Regions from separate parts of the Homo sapiens genome. Here region 1 is linked to region 2. The links are contacts of gene promoters, found by promoter capture Hi-C in blood cells and fetal thymus (Javierre and others, 2016). All regions are on one chromosome and are shown on one strand. The core of a region is centred on a gene start or on the middle of the fragment in contact, and the rest is flanking DNA. Distances in the headings are between cores, read along the strand shown.

Evidence for each region. The method cuts DNA at HindIII sites, captures the fragments that hold promoters and counts their contacts. A CHiCAGO score of 5 or more calls a contact.
Region 1: a fragment that was not itself captured here is called in contact with the fragment with the promoter of CD80 in region 2 in 1 of 17 cell types (monocytes); the score reaches 5.3 in monocytes.

Annotation. Positions count from the first base shown.
Region 1 is chr3:119,683,883-119,688,430 of GRCh38, reverse strand. No RefSeq gene overlaps it. Among named protein-coding and RNA genes, the nearest start is that of COX17, 8.8 kb to the right of the region's middle. The HindIII fragment of the contact is 3,074 bases long and covers 43-3,116 here.
Region 2 is chr3:119,555,761-119,560,910 of GRCh38, reverse strand. CD80 (CD80 molecule) reads left to right here and starts at 1,297. Exons shown (of 7, transcript NM_005191.4): 1 at 1,297-1,471; 2 at 2,983-3,282. The coding sequence starts at 3,183. LOC107986118 (a long non-coding RNA gene) reads right to left here and starts at 481. Exons shown (of 2, transcript XR_001740861.2): 1 at 166-481. RefSeq lists enhancers at 1,024-1,073, 1,844-1,903, 2,174-2,333, 2,695-2,989 and a silencer at 2,695-2,989. The HindIII fragment of the contact is 26,007 bases long and covers 391-5,150 here.

The DNA.
Region 1 (4,548 bases), core at 330-2,829, 130 kb before region 2:
ACAAGGTAAAGGATTGGCATGGGTTTTCATTCCCTGCAAGCTTTTTTTACTAACTGAGTAAATTGTTAGGAGAGACCATTAACAAACATAAAGTTAAAGGCAACTCTAGTAGAGTCAATGTCCATGGGAAGGCCAGAATTCTCTTTAAATACAATCTGGAGTCTGTTATAATAGTTATGAACTGGTTCGTTTGGTTCTTGGGTACATGCTTGAATTTTATTCTAGTCAATGGCTTTACGGAATGCTTTGGGGATGGCCCTATATAAACTTTTTGCAAGTTACCGTTCCTGCTCCCAATATTATAAGCTAGTTTATAGGGAGATGAGGAGGGGTCTTTCTAAATTCTGTTAGGGGTGTGATATGGTTTGGCTCTGTGTCCCCACCCAAATCTCATCTTGAATTGTAGTCCCATAATTCCCATGTGTTGTGGGAGGGAGCTGGTGGGAGATAATTAAATCGTGGGGGAAGTTTCCCCCGTACTGTTCTTGTGGTAGTGAATAAGTCTCATAAGATCTGATGGTTTTATCAGGGGTTTCTGCTTTTGCATCTTCCTCATTCTCTCTTTTCCTGCAGCCATCCATGTAAGATGGGACTTGCTCCTCCTTGCCCTCCACCATGATTGTGAGGCTTCCCCAGCCATGTGGAACTGTAAGCCCAATTAAACCTCTTTCTTTTGTAAATTGTCCCTTCTTGGGTATGTCTTTATCAGAAGCATGAAAATGGACTAATATAGTAAATTGGTACCAGGGTGAGATACTGCTGAGAAGATACCTGAAAATGTGGAAGCAACTTTGGAACTGGGTAACAGGCAGAGATTGGAACAGTTTGGAGGGCTCAGAAGACAGGAAAATGTGGAAAAGTTGGGAACTTCCTGGATACTTGTTGAATGGCTTTTCCCAAAATGCTGATAGCAATATGGACAATAAGATCCAGATTCAGGTGGTCTCAGATGGAGGTGAGGAACTTGTTGGGAACTGGAGTAAAGGTGATTCTTGTTATATTTTAGCAAAGACACTGGTGGCATTTTGCCCCTGCCTTAGAGATTTGTGGAACTTTGAACTTGAGAGAGATGATTTAGGGTGTCTGGTGGAAGAAACTTCTAAGCAGCAAAGCATTCAAGATGTGACTTGGGTGCTGTTAAAGGCATTCAGTTTTAAAGGAGAAACAGAGCATAAAAGTTTGAAAAATTTGCAGCCTGACAATGCAATAGGAAAGAAAATACCATTTTCTGAAAAGAAATTCAAGCCAACGACAGAAATTTGCCTAAGTAACCAGGAGCCAAATGTTAATTCCCAAGACAATGGAGAAAATGTCTCCAGGGCATGTCAGAGGTCTTCATGGCAGCCACTCTCATCACAGGCTTGGAGGCCTAGGAGGATAAAGTGGTTTCATGGGCTGGGTCCAGGGTCCCCAAGCTGTGTGCAACCTAGGGACTTGGTGCCCTGCATCCCAGCCACTCCAGCCATGGCTGAAAGGGCCAACATAGAGCTCAGGCCATGGCTTCAGATGGCCAACCCCAAGTCTTGGCAGCTTCCATGTGGTGTTGAGCCTGAGGGTGCACAGAAGTCAAGAATTGAGGTTTGGGAACCTTTACCTAGATTTCAGAATATGTATGGAAATGCCTGGAAGCCCAGGCAGAAGTTTGCTGCAGGGGCAGGGGTCTCATGGAGAACCTCTGCTAGGGCAATGCAGAAGGGAAAGGTGGGGTTGGAGCCCCTACACCTACTGGGGCACTGCTTAGGGCATTGCTTAGTGGAGCTGTGAGAGGAGGGCCACTGTCCTCCAGATCCTAGAATTGTAGATCTACCGACAACTTGCACCATGCACCTGGAAAAGCCGCAGACACTCAACACCAGCCCATGAAAGTAGCCGGGAGGGAGGTTGTAATCTGCAAAGCCACAGGGGTGGAGCTGCCCAAGACCATGGGAACCTACCTCTTGCATCAGCATGACCTGGATATGAGACATGGAGTCAAAGGAGATCATTCTGGAGCTTTAAGATTTGACTGCCCCACTGGATTTCAAACTTGCATGGGCCCTGTAGTCCTTTTGTTTTGGCCAATTTCTCCTATTTGGAATAGGTGTATTTACCCAATGTCTGTATTCCCATTGTTTCTAGGAAATAACTAACTTGCTTTTGATTTTACAGGCTCATAGGCAGAAGGGACTTGCATTGTCTCAGATGAGACTTTGGACCATGGCCTTTTGAGTTAAAGATGAAATGAGTTAAGACTTTGGGGGACTCCTGGGAAGGCATGATTGGTTTTGAAATGTGAGGATATGAGATTTGACAAGGGCCAGGGGCAAAATGATATAATTTGGCTCTGTGTCCCCACCCAAATCTCATCTTGAATTATACTTCCATAATTCCCACATGTTGTGGAGGGACCCAGTGGGAGACAATTGAATCACGGGGATGGTTTCCCCCATACTGTTCTTGTGGTAGAGAATAAGTCTCACAAGATCTGATGGTTTTATCAGGGGTTTCCACTTTTGCATCTTCCTCATTCTCTTTGCCTGCTGCCATCCATGTAAGATGGGTCTTGCTCCTCCTTGCCTTCCACCATGATTGTGAGGCTTCCCCAGCCATGTGGAACTGTAAGGCCAAAGGCCAATTAAACCTCTTTCTTTTGTAAATTGCCCCTTCTTGGGTATGTCTTTATCAGCAGCATGAAAACAGACTAATACAGGGTGTGTGCAATTGACCTTTTTCTTCTTTCTTTCCTTTTTTTTTTTTTTTTTTTAAGGCAGGGTCTCACTTTATCACCCAGGCTGGAGTGCAATGGAGTGACCTCGGCTCACTGCAACCTCCGCCTCCTGGGTTCAAATGACTCTCCCTCAGCTTCCTGAGTAGCTGAGATTATAGATGTGTGCCACCAGGCCTGGCTAATTTTTGTATTTTTAGTAGAGACGGAGTTTCGCCCTGTTGGCCAGGCTGGTCTCGATCTCCTGACCTCAGGTAATCTGCCCACCTCAGCCTCCCAAATTGTGGGGATTACAGGCGTGAGCCACCATACCCAGCCACAACTGACCTTTTTCATCCAGTGATTAGCCTGGCTTTCTCCCACAAGCATGTGGACAAGTTGATTAAGATCAGAGAAGCTGGGCTAGTAAGCTTCAATTGTAATGTTAAATTCATCAGCAAAGCAAAGAGGGTCCTGGGTAACTTTAGGAAATTCCTTGGCTTTAACATGGATTTCAGCCTTATTCCAAGGGCATAGACAATCTAAGGAACCTCAGGATTGTTAGTGGGTCTAACCCTACAGGGACAAGTTTTTATAGGTTGAGGATGGGGATCAGAAGCTGGGAGGGTAGTAGGGGAGGAAGTATCAGGATTGAGTGGGGTTTTCAGAAAGGGAAGGGTAGAGAGGAGAGAGAGGTGGTGGTACCAGGGGAGCAGAAAAACTCTGAGTTTCTAAGGCCTTTTAAAATCTTCCTTTCGTTGTTTATCTGTCTTAGTTAACTTAGTGATGGTATTTTGGAGTTAGGTGATTTTTGAGGCTTGAATACATTTAGATGCTTCAAGATACCACTTAAAGTTTATGCTCCTTTCAGGCAATTTAATTTTGTAGCCATGGCCTTCTAATTTAGTTCTAAGAAAACAAGTTAGGGAGTTCAAGAGATGGCCATTGTAATTCCAAATTTTCTTTAGTGTAATTGGTCCATTGCGATAAAAAAAGAATAGGAAGATGGACCATAATAATTAAGCATATAACAAGCTAGAGTCCCCAATGTTGGGGGGCTATTTTGGTATATCTTTGAATTTGGGGAGTTCATTTGTAAATAAACATATCCAAGTGAGTCAGTGCAAAGCCAAACACACAAAAGCCAAAATAAAAATCAAGCACACAAAATGAACCAAAGAGTAAAGTACATACTCACCGGGAAGAATGACAAAGCCTTCTTCAAATCCCTTACAAATAGAGGCCTAATAAATAGGAGAGGAAAGGCCCTTCATAAAGAAATCCCAAATAAAGCTGAAGAACTCAAATCCAAAAAAAAAAAAAAAAAAAAAAGGGGTGTTTAACCCAAGAAAGACTCACTGGGGTGAAAAAAGATCACCAGCGGAAGTAGGGGGCTCAAGGGGTCTGACAGTGAGTACTGCACACCATAGTTCCAGGGGCCATTATCTTTCCAAGTGAATCTGCTTTGCATCTCACTTCTGACACCATGTAATGTCAATAACAGATAGAGACTAATCTCCAAGCAAAAAGAGTTTATTTTGAAATAAACAAAGAAATAGGATTGCAATCTGGGACAAACATACAAACTGAAGTGGTCTCCAATATATTCAAAAAAAAAAAAGGAAATGGTTGAGGTTTCATTGGGAAAAGAGAAAGGTTATTGGTGCTTGTGGCATTTTGCAGGAGCTGGCAAGCTCTGATTGCTGGGTGGCAAAAGTTACTAGGTAAAACAAGCTTTGAAGTCATGGCAGCCATTTGTTGTCAAACTAGTCTTAAAATTGTAGCAGCTGTTTCATTGGATTGGGCTTGTGGGACAGTTTCTGGAGCAGGCTTTTGAGACCTGAGTGTTTTTTCACCCCTATGGT
Region 2 (5,150 bases), core at 48-2,547:
TGCTCTTTTAAGTTGACATCTATAACTTTCTATTACTTTAAATACCTGGAAAAAAAATCACTTCCAGTGCATTGTAATAATGTATCAAGTAGAAGTGGCTAAAATCAGTGAAAACATTTCTTTGATCTGAATAAATGTTCAAGAAAATAGAAAACATGAACTTACCTCCAATCTATGTTCCCTTTACTTGAAAATGTAATGTTGATCTACTAGAGGTAAGGCAGGAATTGTCACATCCATATTCCTTGCAACTATTCAAAATATGCATCTGAGACCAGAACAAGACACAGGTGAAGAAGGGTGCTCACTAGGCCCCTTCTGCCAATACAGAAGGAGACAGTGCAGTGGAGTCCTTTCATAGCAAGTTCTGCCTTCATGATTTCCAAAGCTTCAGTATTCCAAATCTCAGGTGAATAGGGTGGTATCCACTAAGCTCTGCCACAAACTTGTTGCTGAGATGAAGGAAGCCGCCGCTGTAGTCAGTATTTCTCACCCACACGGTTTGCTCTCTTTCTGGCTGGTGTGGGAAGGATGGCGTCTTTTTTTTTTTTTTTTTTTTGAGATGGAGTCTTGCTCTGTTACCCAAGCTGGATTGTAGTGTTGTGATCTCGGCTCACTGCAACCCATGCAAGGTGCTGTCAGGTTCCACCTGTGCAAACAAGTACACTGGTCCAGCATGGGTCAGCTGCTCACTCACAGGGGCTCCAGAATCCTACAAAGGGACACACAGGGGTGGGTGGCAACCTAGTTGGAAATGGGAGTGATGGGCATGACTAAAGTCTTCCTCATCCCACCAGAGGCGCACTCAACTGTGGCTAGGGTGACCAGAATTCACTGTCCAGCGTGGCTGGCAGGAGCCCACTCTCTGAAGATGGTGGGATTCAGAGGTGGGAGTAGAGTTGGGTGGTCCTGTGAGCTGAGCACTCTCCCAAAAGTGTCCCCTACATATGAGGTTGACAGCTTATTCCTGCAGGGACTCAGGAGTAACTCTGGGTGCTAAAACAAAACTTGAGACCAGCACAGAAACAGCCAGCCCATGAAGCTGGCCTCCCATCACACAGCAAGGCTAGCCAGATGCCCCTCACTCTTCTCGGGCACCATTCTTCTCCTCCCCTAGGCCGCCTGGTGCTCGTGGTGTTTCATGTTTGTTAGTCCATGCACGGTGGTGAGGGAGGCTGCTGTGTGATTTGCCCCAGCCACAGCCTCTACAAAAGCAACTAGAAGAAGACGGCAGCAGAGGGCGCTTCTTCAAACACCCTGTCCAACTCCTGGCACTGACAAGTACTGAGTGAACTCAAACCCTCTGTAAAGTAACAGAAGTTAGAAGGGGAAATGTCGCCTCTCTGAAGATTACCCAAAGAAAAAGTGATTTGTCATTGCTTTATAGACTGTAAGAAGAGAACATCTCAGAAGTGGAGTCTTACCCTGAAATCAAAGGATTTAAAGAAAAAGTGGAATTTTTCTTCAGCAAGTAAGTACATTTACTATTATCTTACTATGGGATAGCTTGGTAGAACTAGTTACCAGCAACCTCACTGCTTTTTAAACAAACAATACCTCTGCTACCACCTCCTGGATCCAGGCTTGCCCTCAAAGGAACCCTTAGGGTCTCATTCCCACAGGAGGCTGTGGCTTCCCGACATATTTGGAGCATCATAGTGAGAATTGTGGCCCATTATTTTAAAATATCCTAGATCCTAGCAAATATTGTTTTTGTGGGCCGTATTTGAATTTCTCAAGCCAGTAAAATTCTAGTGAAAGTGGGAAAATCGCTTGAGCTCGGGAGGTTGAGACTGTGGTGAGCTATGGTCACGCCACTGCACTCTAGCCTGTGTGACAGAGCAAGATTCTATCTTAAGAAAAACAAATTCTGGTGAATAAGTCTCTTTTAACTAATCCTGTCTAAAATGGATGATGGCTAATAAAACAATATGGCGTGGCTGGAACTCTAGCTCTAGGGTGGTCTCCAAAGAGGACACTCAAGCATTCTCTGAGCAGCACGGGGCTGTGTCCTGGTAGCAGCCTGAAGGGGTGACAGTGGAGCACAGTGTTTATTTTCATTTCTCAATTTTGACATATTTACTGGAAAAATTAATCCCTAGCCACCTCACATGACAGTACATAATTTTTTTTTTTTTTTTTTTTGAGATGGAGTCTCACTCTGTCGCCTAGGCTGGAGTGCAGTGTTGCAATCATCTTGGCTCACTGCAGCCTCCACCTCCTGGATTCAAGCAATTCTCGTGCCTCAGCCTCCCAAGTGGCTGGGATTACAGGCACCCACCACCACACCTGGCTAATTTTTGTATTTTTGGTAGAAATGGGGTTTTGCCATGTTGGCCAGGCTGGTCTGGAACTCCTGGCCTCAAGTAATCCGCCCACCTCAGCCTCCCAAAGTGCTGGGATTACAGGCGTGAGCCACCACGCCTGGCCCTGGAGTACATAATTTTGATAAGTAACGTCTGCAGTGTCTTTTTTTCCCTCCCTTTTTATGGATAGACTTTTCTGGTTATTGAGATCTCATACCCCTTTATGATATATTATTTGAGTAGAGGGTTTAAAGAATTGAGATACTTGTTTTCTTATGTTAATATGTCAAGAAAGAAGTTGTTTCATAACTTAGGTCCTGCCTTGGACAAAATACACCCTTACTGTCTGCTCTATGTTTCTTGGTATGTTCAGAAGAGGATTTGAACTTTTGCAGGTTGGCTAACAGATATGGAGGGTCCTTAGAGCTCTCCTGTTTCTAACCAAATCTTCACCCCACCTATTAAGTAGAAAGCCTTTTCATGGAAGGGCTGTGGTTGGTTCTTGGAACTGGTCCCCTCACAGAATTTCCATTCGCTTTTCCTCAGGGTCACGCCCTGCTTTAGAGGTTGCTTAGGTTAAGCTCTCCAATTAATTTTAGCAGGCAACTCGAGAGTTTTGCAACTCAAAGTAGGCACACCTTCCTTCCTGAATGACTTTTATTTGTTCCTTTTTCAGGCTGTGAAACTAAATCCACAACCTTTGGAGACCCAGGAACACCCTCCAATCTCTGTGTGTTTTGTAAACATCACTGGAGGGTCTTCTACGTGAGCAATTGGATTGTCATCAGCCCTGCCTGTTTTGCACCTGGGAAGTGCCCTGGTCTTACTTGGGTCCAAATTGTTGGCTTTCACTTTTGACCCTAAGCATCTGAAGCCATGGGCCACACACGGAGGCAGGGAACATCACCATCCAAGTGTCCATACCTCAATTTCTTTCAGCTCTTGGTGCTGGCTGGTCTTTCTCACTTCTGTTCAGGTAAGCAACTTTCAGGAACTTAACTGAGTCAACTGCTACAGGGTTAAGAGAAAGGACATGGGGTTCTCTGAGCTGCTCCCTTCTATTATCCTATAAGCTGGAAGGAACCTTCAGGGTGTTTTCAGAAGATTTTAAAGATTAGAAGACTGTGGTCCAAAGAGGTTAAAGGACCTGCCTATCATCACACAGCAAGTTAGCAACCAAGTTAACTCAAGAACCCAGGCCTTCAAGGAAGCGTGGAAGGGACAGTGTTATTTTAACAAAACCATACAGCCGATTCATAATGGTCTCTTCCATGAATATTAGATGCTCATTTACATTTTGTGATGTGCCGATACTGGCCTCGGAGTCTAGTCCCAAACTATGTTTTCATGATACAGCTCAGCGAAAGTGTCCTGCTTCTAAAATTGAACAATGGTGATCTTCTTTCCAATCTGAAGGCGGGAGAGTAGTTGAGGACAATTCCTCTTAATGACATTCATCTTCTTAACCTTCTTAAGTTCCTCTTAATACATTAATCTTATTTGTTCTGCTTTGGATGCTGAGATCTTTTTTCAACATTGGCATCTGACTTTAAGTGGTATCAGATTTAACACAAAATTATGTTTTTAGTTATTTTTAATCTGCCACATAGGTATTACATATATGTCCTGAAAGTAATAATTTGACTTCTAGAGGCTTTTGTTCCTGCTCAGGTGATCTTAAGAGTGCTGAACTTTTGGGACTGTCAAGAAGGGTGAGGCTTGTCCCTGCTGGCAGGATGGTTCTGATTTTTTTTTTTAAGTCAGAAAACAAAAGATCTGTTTTCTAGTGAGCAGCATACTTCCCAGTTTCCCAAAAACAAAGAAGTTTGGGCTCCAGCATGATTTGCCAGTCTGCAAAGACCCGACTATTAAGGGTCCTTGTCTTAAAAACTTCTCACATAAAGTACTGCCTAGAATATCAGAGGTGTGAGAGAGAGGTAGAGGGAAGAGAAGAGGAGTTGGGGGCCCACAGATTACTTGACTGCGATGGTGGTCATTTAAAATTTTCTGTCCAGAGCTATTTTACATTGTTTCAGAACCAAGAGAAACATGGCCTACATTTCACAATTTACACCTCAGGTTTTTTATATATTTGACAGTTACATTACATTTCCAACAGTTACAATTTCCTTCTGGGGAGCTGGGGAAGCATTCCCAAACTAGTCTTCTGGGGAGTACAGAGGAGTTTAAAATATATAGAAGGAAATTTGTACAGGCTTCCCAGAAATAAGGGGGGCAGGGAGGGGGAGAGACAGAAAGAGGGAGAACAATAAAAAAAGTAAAAGAGGACATAAAATAAAAATTAAAACCCAGACTTTAGAAATTGTACAAGGAAAATTAGGGTCAGAGGTAAGTGGAAAGAGATCTTTGAGCTAAAGAAAGATGTTTAGGAAAGCACCTTGTTCTCTAGCTACATCCTGGTTTTACTGCTGCTGTGACTGAGTCAATGAAGCACCTACTGTGTGCCAGGTGGGCCATAAAAGTTGAGGCTAGGATTCCTGCACTCAAAGAGGTCTGCATATGTTAGTTGCGGAAATGCAAAGCTAACCCATGTAGAACAAGCAAAGAGCAATGAAATGCTTTGCCCTGATTGTAGGAGCCCAAGATCTGGGAAAGTGGGTAACAGACTGGGCTGCAGGAAGGAGGGCAGGCTTTACAGAGGCAGATGGATGATGGAGAGAGAATTCTGGTCAGGGCAACAGCCTGGACAAAGGCACAAAGGTAAGGATGAGGCTGGCACAGGTGTTCATTCTTTTGTTTAATCATTTATTAATTCAACAAACATGAGCATCTCCTAAAACCAAGAGACTTTTCTTGGTCCTGGGGACATGGCTCTTGCATTTG